3 separate regions of the Homo sapiens genome follow, and regions 2 and 3 are each linked to region 1. The links are contacts of gene promoters, found by promoter capture Hi-C in human tissues and cell types (Jung and others, 2019). All regions are on one chromosome and are shown on one strand. The core of a region is centred on a gene start or on the middle of the fragment in contact, and the rest is flanking DNA. Distances in the headings are between cores, read along the strand shown.

The links. The method cuts DNA at HindIII sites, captures the fragments that hold promoters and counts their contacts. A contact is called where the count stands out against the background at its distance.
Region 2: a contact is called between a fragment that was not itself captured here and the fragment with the promoter of OTOP1 in region 1, in 4 of the 25 tissues and cell types used here (bladder, dorsolateral prefrontal cortex, mesenchymal stem cells and 1 more).
Region 3: a contact is called between a fragment that was not itself captured here and the fragment with the promoter of OTOP1 in region 1, in 2 of the 25 tissues and cell types used here (heart right ventricle and lymphoblastoid cells).

What each region holds. Positions count from the first base shown.
Region 1 is chr4:4,224,496-4,229,089 of GRCh38, reverse strand. It overlaps OTOP1 (otopetrin 1), which reads left to right and starts at 2,161. Exons shown (of 6, transcript NM_177998.3): 1 at 2,161-2,628. The coding sequence starts at 2,226. RefSeq lists enhancers at 1,169-1,789, 2,411-3,031. The HindIII fragment of the contact is 12,453 bases long and covers 1-2,998 here.
Region 2 is chr4:4,353,668-4,358,358 of GRCh38, reverse strand. No RefSeq gene overlaps it. Among named protein-coding and RNA genes, the nearest start is that of NSG1, 31 kb to the left of the region's middle. The HindIII fragment of the contact is 3,687 bases long and covers 1,475-4,691 here.
Region 3 is chr4:4,420,749-4,424,967 of GRCh38, reverse strand. STX18 (syntaxin 18) reads left to right here. Exons shown (of 11, transcript NM_016930.4): 9 at 1,381-1,450; 10 at 4,024-4,104. Among named protein-coding and RNA genes, the nearest start is that of NSG1, 36 kb to the right of the region's middle. The HindIII fragment of the contact is 3,714 bases long and covers 182-3,895 here.

The sequences.
Region 1 (4,594 bases), core at 912-3,411:
GTGCAGGAGGCTGGACGTGGTAGCTGGAGCCTGTGATCCCAGTGCTTTGGGAGGCTGAGGTAGGAGGATGGCTTGAGCCCAGGAGTTTGAGATCAACCTGAGCAACATAGTGAGACCCGTCTCTACAAAAAAACAATTTAAAAAAAATGAGCCAGGCGTGGTAGCACACACCTGTAGTCCCAGCTATTCGGGAGGCTGAGGCGGGAGGAGCACTTGAGCCCCAGAATTCGAGGCTGTAGTGAGCCATAATCACACCACTTCATTCCAGCCTGGGAGACACAGGGAGACCCTGTCCTTATTAAAAGATAAAAATAAGAGAAAGAAAGAAAGAAAGAAGACTGTGCAGGTGTTGCCTCCTCCCTGAACCTCTCAGCCTTCCTGCAGACCTGGACTCCTCCCAGGCCCCTGGTTGTAGCCCTGCTCAAGGGTGTTGTGCTGCTTACTCTGTCCCCACTCCCAAGCTCTTAGAAGTTGAGGGCTAAGTCTCACAGGTCATGATCCCCAGCTTCCCAGTGAGGGCTCATTAGCTGTTTGTTTATTGCTGTTTCTCTACCTGAACATCAGCTCCACCTGAGCAGAGCCTTTCATAGCTGAAAACCCAGCTGCTAGAACAGAGAGCAGCAAATGATTCATAGGTCAACACATACATATGTGTTGATCAAATGCATGAATGCGTGAATTGGAAGAATGATGGTGGCAAGGTAAGGTCCCCCAGGTTGACTCCTTGCTAGCCCAGGACTCCCCACCCCTCCTTTACTAGTCAGGACCTGCTATTGCAATTTGCTGCGCTTAGCGCAAAACAAAAACATGGGCCCTCTTGTTCAAAAATTAAGAATTTCAAGACGGCAAGAACCTTAAACCAAGAGCGAGAGGGTGTCTTCCGGGCCCAGCCCCGGGCTGCTGCACGGTGGGATGTGGGCTTGCCCCAGGCTCGCTCCCAACTCCCCTCTCCAACCTGCGGCTGGGGGGCTGGGGTCCGGCGCCTCCTGTCAGCCACGCCAGACCCGTAGAACGCTCTTCAGCTGAAACTTCCCAGACCTCCACTTAGCGGCACCCGAGCGGGGCTCCCTGGCAGACTCAGTCCCCTTCCGGGAGCAGGCGGGTGCCAGGCGGGCACCGGGGCTTTGGAAGGGGCTAGTGAAGACGCTTGGGCGCCGGTAGCAACAGGGCAGACCCCGGGGCGTCCCTCATTCCAGCTCCTCTGGGTCCAGAACGGCTGCCGCTCCTTTGGGGGAGGGTGCGGGATGGTCTCTTTTCTTAGAAAGTGGCTCAGGTCTTATTCTGCGCCTGGGCATCTCGCAGCCGACACACAGGCACACCAGACGGACAAACAGAAAAACCCACAGAAGGCGGCCCCTCCCCCAATTCAGAGAGCCAGTGACGGGCGCTCCTCCACCCCTAACCAGACACACCCGATAACAGACGGCCAGACACAGAGTGACCCGCACAGAGAAGACAATACAGAAATACGCAGGGACGAGTACAGACCGTCGGACGCTCGGACACGGACGCAGGCAGGATCCCCTGGACCTCTGGGTTCCCCAACGGAGACCCTCGGGGAAGGCCCGGAGCATCGCAAGCCCCTGTGGAGCCCCGGACGCCCCGCTTGGCAGCAGCCACGCCCCCCGCGCACACCCCCCTCGGGCTGGCTCCGGGAGACCCCCTCTCCCCAGTCCCGCAACCCCGGGACCCCGGCAGGCACTTCTTGTCACCCAGCGTTTCCGGGGCGCCCGGACAGGGGCTGGGTGGGCGGGCGTCGGCTCAGGGGTGAGGGCTGCAGACGGCGGGCGGGGGCCGGGCGCGCGGGCGGAGGTGCGGGAGGACGCGCTAGTGTCGCGGCAGGGCTGGCCAGTGTCCCAGGGATCAGGAGCGGGGAGCTGTCCGCGTGGGTCCCGGAGGGGGCAGATGGCTGCCCCGGGCGTTGCCCAGTGAGGGGCAGCGGGCAAGGGAGCTCGTAGAATCCCAGGTCAGCAGGGTGGGGCGCTGGGTAAGTGGACAGGGTGGTACCTTGACGGAGGACGAAGGGGCAGAAGAGGGGAGGGCGGGCGTCGGGAGGTGACAGGAGAGGGGGCAGGTTGGCAGGGGCGTGGGGTAGGAATCGGAAGGGAGTTGAAAAGGGAGGTGCTGGTTGGCAGAGGCGTCGGGGCAAGGACAGGAGCCAGGAGCGCAGGCGGGGCCCGACGGCAGCCACCCCCGGGACCAGACTTGGCGCGGGTGTCTCGAAGATGCTCGAGGGCCTGGGGTCGCCCGCCTCGCCCCGGGCAGCTGCAAGCGCCTCGGTCGCAGGGTCGTCGGGGCCAGCGGCCTGCTCGCCTCCCTCGTCCTCGGCCCCGAGGTCCCCGGAATCCCCGGCCCCCCGGCGGGGCGGTGTGCGCGCCAGCGTCCCACAGAAACTGGCCGAGATGCTGAGCAGCCAGTATGGGCTGATCGTGTTCGTGGCGGGGCTGCTGCTGCTGCTGGCCTGGGCCGTGCACGCCGCGGGCGTGAGCAAGAGCGACCTGCTGTGCTTCCTGACGGCGCTCATGCTGCTGCAGCTGCTGTGGATGCTGTGGTACGTGGGCCGCAGCTCCGCGCACCGCCGCCTCTTCCGCCTCAAGGACACGCACGCGGGTGCCGGCTGGCTGCGCGGTGAGTCCAGGCGCCGGGCGAGCGGGTCTCCGCCTCCTCGCCCGCTGGCTGCATCCTGAGGCTGCTCTGCGCCCTTCCTACCGCTGCCGTCTTCCCTTCAGCCTTTTCTGCCTTGGTCTCTCTGTGCATCTTTCCTAGCTTTCCTGTCTGCCCTTCCTTTCCTCTCTCTCTCTCTGAAGCTTGGGTCGCCGCAGGAGCCTCCTCTCCGCCTCCAGACGCTTCCATCATTACAGCCACAGTTACAGAAACCTCTCTTGTCCTTCCCTGACTTAAAGCCATGCAGTGGCCCTACTGACCCCATGATGGAGGCCACGCTCCCTCTCCTGACACTCAGAGCCTTCTAGCACTCGGCCCCCGAGGGCCCGTTTCCTTTGATCCCCTCCTTTGTTCTCATCCTGTGCTGGGGTCATTCTCGCGAACTTTCTCGCCCATCGCAGGACCTCTGCCTCTGCACATTCGGCACCTTCGGTTCTCTCCTCCAGGAATGTCTTTTCCACTTTCCCACCTGCCCCTCTGCTTTCCGAGACAGGGCTCAGGCCTCACCCCATTCTCCCCGCGAAGCTTCTCCGACCCCCTTCTCCTCCCGGCTTTGCAGGTCTGACCACATGCCCCCAGCCCGCACTGGGCTCCAGTGTTCTTGTCAACATGTCTGTACCCTCCACTCCACTGGGGAGCTCTGTGATCCCTGTCTCTCGGTCCTAGAGCCACCTCAGGGCCTGGCACGAAGTGGGTGTTGAGAAAATGAGGGGGTATGAATGAAATAATGAATGCGTGGATGCAGGGTGGGGCAAAGAGGGATAGAGGCTCCTGCTGGTACTCACAGGCATTGGCTGAAATTGTCAAGATAGGAGCTCTTTCTTCCTCAAGGGGCTGCCACATTTTTTTTTTTTTTTTTGAGACAATGTTGCTCTATCTCCCAGGCTGGAGTGCAGTGGCACAATCACAGCTCACTACAGCCTCTTCCTCCTGGGCTCAAGCAATCCTCCCACTTCAGCCTCCTGAATAGCTGGAACTATAGACACACATGGCCTTGCCCAGCTAAGTTTTGTTATATTTTGTACAGATAGGGCCTCGTTGTGTTGTCTCCTTTTCTCAAACTCCTGGCCTCCAGGGATCCTCCTGCCTTGGCCTCCCAAAATGCTGGGATCACAGGCATGAACCACTGTGCCTGGCTGGGGCTGCCAGTCTTGAATGGGAGACAGACATGGTGCAGGTGAAAGGGAGGAGGCCATGGGGAGCATGCTTGTGAAGAAAGCTTCTGTCTGAGTAACCTTCCCAGGAGAGGCCAAGTGCATTTCACACCACGTGGTCCAGGCACATCACACATTGCCACTTGGACTCTCATATTAGACCTGAATTTAAATCTCCATTAGAGTGGGGCTTCCGTGTTCCTTGCATGCATGACCTTGGGCAAGTTACCTGATTGCCTTCCTTACCCTGAACCCTGGTTTCAGCATCTGTAGAATGGGGATCTCAAACTGGATAAGATCCAGTGACTGATGAGGTGGCTGCCCAGCACACACTAGGCCTCCTTTCCACATTTCTTTCAAAGGTCCTGGCCAGATGCCACCTTCTTCACAAATGCCTGGCAGGAATTACTCCTCACTTCTATGGGCCACCATGGCCCCCTTTCTGTAAAGCTCTTTTGGTCCTTGTCCGTTTCTGCCTTGTATTATGACTGTTGGATATTAGCCTTACCATCCAGAAGAGATTTTAGACTTCTTAGGCTCAGGGACTGGATCTAGTTCATCTTGCTTTTGGGGAAATTTGACACCATTGCAGCGTGGCCCAAATTCCTGTTCTGAAAATGGTTGTTTTAGGGAAGTTAATGGTTTTGTGACTCTGTGAATGACAGTGAATCTGGTGCTATTTAAAACAAGGCACAAAGTGTTATTTTAGGATATTGACTTACACAGGCTAAAAAGTATTATACACATGAGCCTTTACCTGTGTTTTCCTATAGTCA
Region 2 (4,691 bases), core at 2,069-4,568, 130 kb before region 1:
TTTTACTAAGAAGAAACTCAGGCACATAGAAGTCATTTGCCTAAGATCATGTAGCCAGCGGGTGGCAGCAGGGTGACCCAGGTGGCCTGGCTCCAGAATCCTTGCTCTTCTTCCCCATTGCTAAGCGGCCTCTTCATTTTGTGACTTTCTCTAAAGAAGGTCAAATTCATGTGGGGTTAGAAGCTTGGCTTCGCCCTGGGTGACGAGAACCTCTAGATGCTAAAATGACTGAACGTGAAAAGGTGCAGCCATTGTAGGCAGCAGTCTGGCAGTTCTGTACGAAAATTAAGCTAAGAGTTACCCTATGATCCGGCCACTCCACGCCTAGGTATGTTCCCGAAAGAGCTAAAAGCAGAGACTCAAACAGACATTAGTACACTCACATTCATAGCAGCATTATTCACCGTACCCACGAGGTGGAAGCAACCCAGGTGTCCATCCATGGAAGGATGGATAAATAAAATGTGGTCTGTCCGTACAGTAAAGTATTGTCCAGCCTTAAAAAGGAAGGACATTCTGACACATGCGCCAACAGGGATGAATTTGGAAGCCCTTAGTCTAAATTTAAAAAGCAGTCACAAAAGGACAAACAGTGTGTGATTCCACTCATGTGAGGTAGCTGGAAGTCAAATTCAAAGAGGCAAAAAGTAGATTAGAGGCTACAGGGGCTGGGGGAGACCATAGGGAGCTATTGCTTCATGGGTACAGAGTGTCTGTTTGGGGTGATGAGAAAGTCGTGGAAATAGATTGTGATGATGGTTATACGACACTGTGAATGAAATTAATACCAATGAATGGCATTTTAAAATGGTAACATAGGCCGGGTGCGGTGGCTCATGCCTGTAATCCCAGCACTTTGGGAGGCCAAGGTGGGCAAATCACCTTAGGTCAGGAATTCGAGACCAGCCTGACCAACATGGAGAAACCCCGTCTCTACAAAAATACAACATTAGCCGGGTGTGGTGGCACATGCCTGTAATCCCAGCTACTGGGGAGGCTGAGGCAGGAGAATCGGTTGAACCTGGGCGGTGGAGGTTGTAATGAGCCGAGATCGTGCCATTGCACTCCAGCCTGGGCAAAAAGAGTGAAACTCTATCTCAAAATAAAATTAAATTAAAAAATGGTAACATAAAATGTCAAATTTTATGTTATATATATTATTTACCTCGATTTAAAAAACCCAGTGAAGTAAAAGCAGTTATTGTCTCCATTTTACAGATGTGCACACAGAGAGGCAGGAAGGGGTAACACGCCCAAGGCCAAATAGCTCCCTGCAGAGCACGTTCGTCTCCAACAGAAAATGTCTCTGCAGCTCCAACTGGACAAAGAGGCCTCTGCCTGGGGAGAGCCCTGAGCAGCCAGGACTGAGGTTGTGCAGGGAGACAGCAGACAGAGCAGAAAGGCGCAGGGAGCGTGGGAGGTGCGCTCCTGCCTTCCAGCAGCTCACAGGGGCGACCCTGTGCATCGGAACTGCAAGAGCTCTGTGTGGGGGTGAGGGTGAGGGCCGCGGGGGTGAACTCTCCAGAGAAGGACCCAAATTTACACTCAAGGAATGTGTTCCAAGCAGGAGATTTTGCCACAAAGGAAGGGAGGGATATTTATGTGCCTGGCCTTATCTCCTCTAGATTGACTTTTCCTGAATCACAGAGGCTCAGGGAGGAGGGAGGAGGGAGGAGGGGGAATAGCTCTCGGGATAAAGGAGGCCATTGGCGAGCAGCCATTTAATGCCCGCCTTTAATCTGGTGAATATAATGCTACAGGCGAGGTGGCCATTTTTCCCGACTGTAAAGAGAGAATCTAGCCTCATAGTCCCAAGGAGGCCCCAGACCCGGCATCCAACAGCCGTGGCCCTGTGTGCGCAAGGGGTGCTGGGGGTGGAGAGGGCTTGGCCGGGGATGTTCTGAGACCCCGGGAATACTTGGTCCACCAGCAGGCCTGGGGGTCCTGCTCCCCCTGAGCTGCGACCTGGGCCACGTCTCCCCTGCTCTCCCAGCATCCTCCACGGCAGGCTCGTTGGTCCCTGCGGGACTAGCCGTCCACTGCTGTGCTGTTAGCAGGCTGGTCCCTTGGCTTCCTAAAGAGCAGCCTCCTCCTCATCCAACCACTGTGCTCCTATGTCACCTTTTCTGGAAGCACCACCCCAAGCCTACAGGGAGAGCTAGCCGCCCCTCTCCTCTGTCTGTCTCCGTCTCTCCTATTGCCTCATTAGAGGGGGAACCATTTCCAAGGGAGGACCCACGTCAGTTATCTCTGGAACTTGTCAGGCCTGTTACATGGCTGGTGTAAAATCAATATTGATGGAAGTGAATTGGATTAAAATGAAACACTGAATAGAAATGAAATGAATTGAAATGAATTATAAATACACTGACTACAGGTGTATTGAATGAGTTGAAAGCTGACCTCCAAAAAGAGATGGCCATGTCCTAACCATCGGAAACTGTGAATGTCACCTTATTTGGAATAAAGATCTTTGCAGATATAACCAAATTGAGGATCTCGGGATGAGATCATCCCAGATGATCCTGAACCCTAAATCTAATGACAGTGACCTTGTAAGAGACACATAGAAGACAGAGGAGGACCCCACATGAAATGGAGGCAGACATTGGAGTGAGGCGGCTACAAGCCAAGAAACGCCTAGAGCCACCAGAGGTTGAAAAGAGGCAAAGAGTTGTCACCTAGAGCCTTTGGAAGGAAGTGTTAACCTTAAAGAATGAGATTCAGAAAGTGTGATTGAGTATAGAGTTTATTCAAGTGCAAAGCTTAAGGATGGCTACCAGTGAAAGTACCAACTCCAAAGGAATGGGCTCAGAGTTTCCAACGTGGAGGAGTTAAGGTTTCATTGATATCAGTAGAGAAGTTCCAGGAAGATTACATCAGCTACCCTACAAGGCCAGGTGCATACATCACAGCAATTGGATTGGTTACAGATTGCTTCATACCAAGGAAGATTACTTTATTACTCCATGAGGAGGGGCAATGATCTGAGGGGGTCTCATCTCTGGTGCAGCTTGGGTCTTCTTAATTACTAACAAGAAGAAATAAAGGCAGAAGTTGCAGCTGCAACCCATGTGACCGAGATTGCATAGCCACATTGCTCTCAAGGCTCAGGTTAATTCGAGGTTTCAACAGCTTTAAGCTTGAATTATTTAACTTCACATTTCCCCCTTTTCATCAAGATCTTTGGAAGAAAGCTTCATAGATGAACTCAAATGGTTTTGGCTCCTTTTATGTTCAGGACCTTAGTCCCTTATTGCTAGAAGGCTCATTCCTAGAGTGTCATGTCCATGGTAGGGGGAATGTCAGGCTATCAACCTGATAAGGTAGCAACCTAATTTAAAGCAATATGAGGGAAGTGACTTTGTGACCTGAGTCAGGCTACTCCGCTGCATCTTCAGTTAATGCAGTTCTTCAAGTGACCATTAATTTCATTTCTTCAGTTGTGAGTTGACTCCCTTGCAAATACATTCTGTAGCAGCAGTGAAGACAAAAAGAAGGCAAAACCCGCTGGGCACAGTGGCTCATGCCTGTAATCCCAACACTTTGGGTGGCCAAGGTGGGTGGATCACTTGAGGTCAGGAGTTCGAGACCAGCCTAGCCAACATGGTGAAACCCCGTCTCTACTAAAAACACAAAAATTAGCCGGGCTTGGTGGTGGGCACCTGTAATCCCAGCTACTTGGGAGGCTGAGGCAGGAGAATCGCTTGAACCTGGGAGGCGAAGGTTGCAGTGAGCCGAGGTTGTGCCATTACACTCCAGCCTGGGTGACAGAGTGAGACTCCGTCTCAAAAAAGAAAAAAAAAAGAAGAAGACAAAACCAAACAATGATGATAATTTCTAGAACGAGTAATAGCTTTTGCCACCAAGTTTCCCAAGATCCCAACCAGCTGCTTAGCCAGTCGTTTAGGGAGGGCATTGGATCTGAAAGGATAATTATTTGAGTTTTCATATCAGCCATCAATTTAGTGATGTTACCTGGGATATAGATACAGCAGCCAGTTTTTATGATAGCATAGGTTCCCCCTTGGGCTGCAGTGAGTATGTCTAAAGTCATATGGTGTCAGGTAAATGCACCTGACAGCAAACATTTAAGCATATCCTTAGACTGACCCTGTGTGGAAGATGCACCTGAATGTGTGTTCCCAACTAGAGAACCTGGGAGTGGACAACCTGGAGATTCATTCCGTATCTATGGTAAACATCTGAGTTCCCATCCCATCCCATTGAATGTGGGCCATACAGGGCACTGAGGTTCTGAGTTTTGGGTTAAATGAAGGTTGCCAGGTGTAGGTTGTTAAGGGGAGAAAGTGTTAAGTGAAAATGCTATATGAACTGCATGCTGTTTGCAAGCATTTGTGGTTTCCCTGCTCAGCCTGCCATCACTAGAGCCTTTCTTTTTTTTTTCCGACAGAGTTTCACTCTTGTTGCCCAGGCTAGAGTGCAATGGCATAATCTCAGCTCACTGCAACCTCCGCCTCCCGGATTCAAGCAGTTCTTCTGTCTCAGCCTCCTGAATAGCTGGGATTACAGGCATGCGCCATTACGCCTGGCTAGTTTTGTATTTTTAGTAGAGCCGGGGTTTCTCCATGTTGGTCAGGCTGGTCTCGAACTCCTGACCTCAGGTGATCCACTCACCTCGGCCTCCCAAAGCGCTGGGATTACAGGCCTGAGCCACCACGCCCAGCCTA
Region 3 (4,219 bases), core at 789-3,288, 200 kb before region 1:
ACCTCCTGCCTGCTGCCACTGCTGCGGGGGGCCCAGGTGCTTCCCACCCCGAGAGATACAGGAGTGACTACAGATTACCTGCGTATAATTTCCACCACCATTCGGGCTGTTTCCACGCAGCGACTCTGAAATGAAATGGGGCCCTTATGAAGGGCAGCTAACCAAGGGAAGCCCTCTTCTGCAAATGGTTCCACTGGGGTCTGCCTGCTCCTGTACCCACCAGGGAGTCAGGAATGCAGAAGGCAAGGCCTTGGTCACTCACACATGCACCCGTTAGCCTCTAGTTTCTGTGGGAAGGCTTGGAGCATGCTGAAAGTAAGGCCCAGGACTTTGCAGAGCCTGTTGTATTGTGGACATGTCCCCCAAATAAAATCAATCCTGATGCTGCACTCACACAGCCTGAGGACTTTCTCAGTGTAGGTGTCAGCCTCCAAGGGGCTCTTCGCCTTCTGCCCTCAGAGATGGACCTCCTAGTCCTCCTCTGACAGCCTAGCTTTCACTGTCTGCCCCACTACCGCCCCCACCCCGCTACTCCCCCATGCCCAGATACTCACTGGCTTTTCTTCCCACATCTCCTCCCCTGCCCCCTGCCACTGTGATACTGTTGGGATTCATCACTGCTTCCACCTGGCCAGGAGCTCAGCTCCCACCACTTTTTGCCTCCTGTCACTTCCTGTCGCTGCTTTGTGCTGGAACAGCAGTTGACTTCAGCTTGGGCCAGCTTCTGTTTCTAAATAGATGTGCCCCCACCCGCCCCCCAGGGTAGCCCATGCTGCCCCTGACACCAGGAAGATGGCTAGCCCAAGTGTTTCAGATCCGACAGAACACTCCGTTGCCAAACCAAGACATGGCATTTTCTAAATGAATCAGAGGAGCTTTTTTCTTGGAACAGGGAGTTGGTTTGAAGGTAAATACACTTTTTTCTTTAACCTGCTGAGCATTAACAAAGCTGGATCATCAGCATATTCTGACCTTCTGAATCCCCACCATGTGTTACCATGGTGATGAGGCTAGGCAGAGAACTTACTGGAGACTGCTTTCTGTAACTGGGGCACAACCAGGCCCTCCCCATTCCCCGAGCAGTGACACAGAATGCAAAGGGCACTGCACACACCCACCTCTTGGGACTGAGGGTCAGTTGGCATGGTAGAGTGGACTTCCAAAAAGACCAGTGTGCTAGGCTATGCCAGAAGACAGGGAAGGTGACCCAGTAAGGAGAGTTCGCCTTCCTCTCCCATCTCCTCTTCCCCCAGCCGACACAGTGTGCCCCCTGTCTCTCCCACCTTCACGTAGAAGATAGGATTTCTTTAGAAGTGTGTAACAGTCCTGTTAGATTACCAAGTGCTAATAGTTAATATGTAATCTGTTCTTTTTATGAAGGCAAATCGAAGGGAGAGTGGTTGAGATTTCCAGACTCCAAGAGATATTCACGGAAAAGGTTTTGCAACAGGTAAAAAAACAAAAACAAAGGAGCTGTATGTTTTCACTCAAAGGGGAATGTACTTGAGAGCACGAGACATTTTTCCCAAAGGCTGCTGCTCTACACAGCCAGGAGCAGAGCCATGTGTTGCTAGCAGGTGTGTGTGCGCAGAGCTCCTCAGGGAAAAGCTCTCACTACCCAGAGCTGCCTCTGCACACGTGTGATGGAGGAGGAGCTCCCCACAGGGGACCCACTGACCACCCCATGTGGTAGCACATGCGGTGGCACGTGGGAGGAGAGTCCAGGCCTGGCAGTCAGGGTTCTGGATGTGCTGGGTAAGCTAGGTAGCCCCCACAAGCTACAGTTTCCCATCTATAGGAGGGAGGGACTCCTGCAGGGTTATTCTCTGTTTGAGAGATAACTGCAGAAGCATCCAGCACGATGCTGACGGGCAGTTGCTTTTCAGTCAGTAGGTTACAGGAGCTCAGACCCAGGCCTCTCACAACGCGCGGTCCATGCCACCTCAGGGATGGTGTCTGCGTGGGAAATAGGATTGTTCTTTTCAAGTGAATTTTCTGAAATTCTTCCAGCCAATAACTGGCAAAACTTTTCAAGACCTGATAAATTTGCCCTTTTATTTTTAGCATCCAAAGACTATGGGAACGTTTGAAAGACAAAATTTTCTCCAGTATTTTAAACTGGACTACTTGACTTAAGATACTTCACTCACAAAATGACTTTCCATAAACCACACAGCCAGAGTGAAATCATTGTAAATGAGGTACATTAAGTCTAACAGTGGTTTGCAAGTTCGGGTTCATAGGAGTCGCCCTTTTTAATAACACTACCCTGCTTCAAACCTCCCAGCGGCTCCAGGGGGCCTGGGAGGGGCGTGCAGAGCATAGGCAGAGCCTTGCCTTGGCTCACCGGGAGTTTCTTTTTCTTTTCTTTTTTTTTCTTTTTCTTTTTTTTTTTTTTGGAGACAGAGTCTTGCTGTGTCGCCCAGGCTGGAGTGCAATGTTGCTATCTTGGCTCACTGCAACCTCATCCTCCCAGGTTCAAGCGATTCTCCTGCCTCAGTCAGCCTCTTGAGTAGCTGGGATTACAGGCATGCCACCACGCCTGGCTAATTTTGGTATTTTTAGTAAAGACGGGGTTTCACCATCTTGGCCAGGCTGGTCCCGAACTCCTGACTTCAGGTGATCCACCTGCCTTGGCCTCCCAAAGTGCTGGGATTACAGACGAGAGCCACTGCGCCCGGCCCACTGGGAGTTCCTAAGTCCTGAGGAACAATGTGTCTTTCTTGTTTTTTCCATCAGTGTTGCATTGTAGTTCATATTGATTCTCTCATTGGAACCTTGGCAGTGGTCACTTAGTTCACACTTTGAGACTCTCTAAAAAGGGGTGATGATGAGGCAAAGCCATCCCAGTAATATTCATTGCTGGGAATCAGAGGCCACATGCTGCCTTCCTCCCTACAATGTGTCAGTCAGGTTTCTCTAAAAACCCACGCTAGCATTCATTCTGCCCTGACCCTGTTAGGAAGCAGCTTCACCACCACCGAAAGGAGGAGAGAAGCAGGCACTCCTGCTTGTAAGGACGTCTAGCACCGTCTCTGCTCCTGTGGGGCCAGACGCCCCCTGTGTTATCCCACGCTTCTCAAGCTTTTCAAGGCTTCGTTTGGAGTAAACGTTTTCTGTAAGCATCCTGCATCCTATTTTGATTTTTAAATTTTAGCCTGTTTTTTAAGAGATATGATGATAGTAAAACACAAAGCACTATTTTTGAAGCTAGCATATGTATTTCGAAGCACATACATTTTAAAGCTTACTTCTGTGGACTTCAGAAAGAAATGAGAGACTAGAAGGGAAGCCCCTGGCATATGGTGGCTGCTCCACAAACAATAGCTCTTAGGTTTTTGTCCGTCACCGGCGAGTGGCGCAGGAGGGATGGTAAGTGTGGCGGAAGGAGCACTGCAACAAGATGGGGTCTCAGCCCTGCGCGGTGGCTCATGCCTGTAATCCCAGCACTCTGGGAGGCCGAGGCGGGAGCATGGTGTGAGCTCAAGAGTTCAAGACCAGCCTGGGCAACATAGGGAGACCCCCCATCTCTACAAAAAATTTTAAAAATTTAGCCAGGCGTGGTGGCACATGCCTATACTCCCAGCTACTTGGGAGGCTGAAGTGGGAGGATCGTTTAAGCCCTGTCTCAAAAAAAAAAAAAGTCTCAGTCCTGCCACTTGGTTGCTGTGTGATGTGACTTTGGGCAAGTTAGTAAACTTCTCTGAGCCGTGAGTTTCCGTTTCATAAAATAGAGGTAATACCTACTTCTTGGGGTGCTGTGAGGATTTGTGGCTATGCAAGTAAAGCCGTTAGCCCTTGGTGACGGCTACTGTTCTTGTCATGATATACGCTTCAGGGAGGAGGAAGTGGCTGTATATGTCAAGCATCCCTAAACTTCAAAATGTGAAGTCCTAAGTGCTCCAAAATCTGAAACTTTCTGAGCGCTGACATGACACTCAAAGGAAATGCTCGTTGGAGCATTTTGGGTTTCAGGTTTTTGGATAAAGGATACTCAACTTGTATTTATCTTTTCTTCCACAGGAAGCTGAGATTGACAGCATTCACCAGTTAGTTGTGGGGGCAACTGAAAATATCAAGGAAGGCAACGAAGACATAAGAGAGGTAGGCACTGTTTAGGTTCCCCAGGTGCGACGTGGCGCAGCACTGAGTCCCAGCAGCGGGTGTTAGTCTCGCCGGCACAGCTGCCCAGGAGCCTTGCTGGGCAGAGCTCACGGGG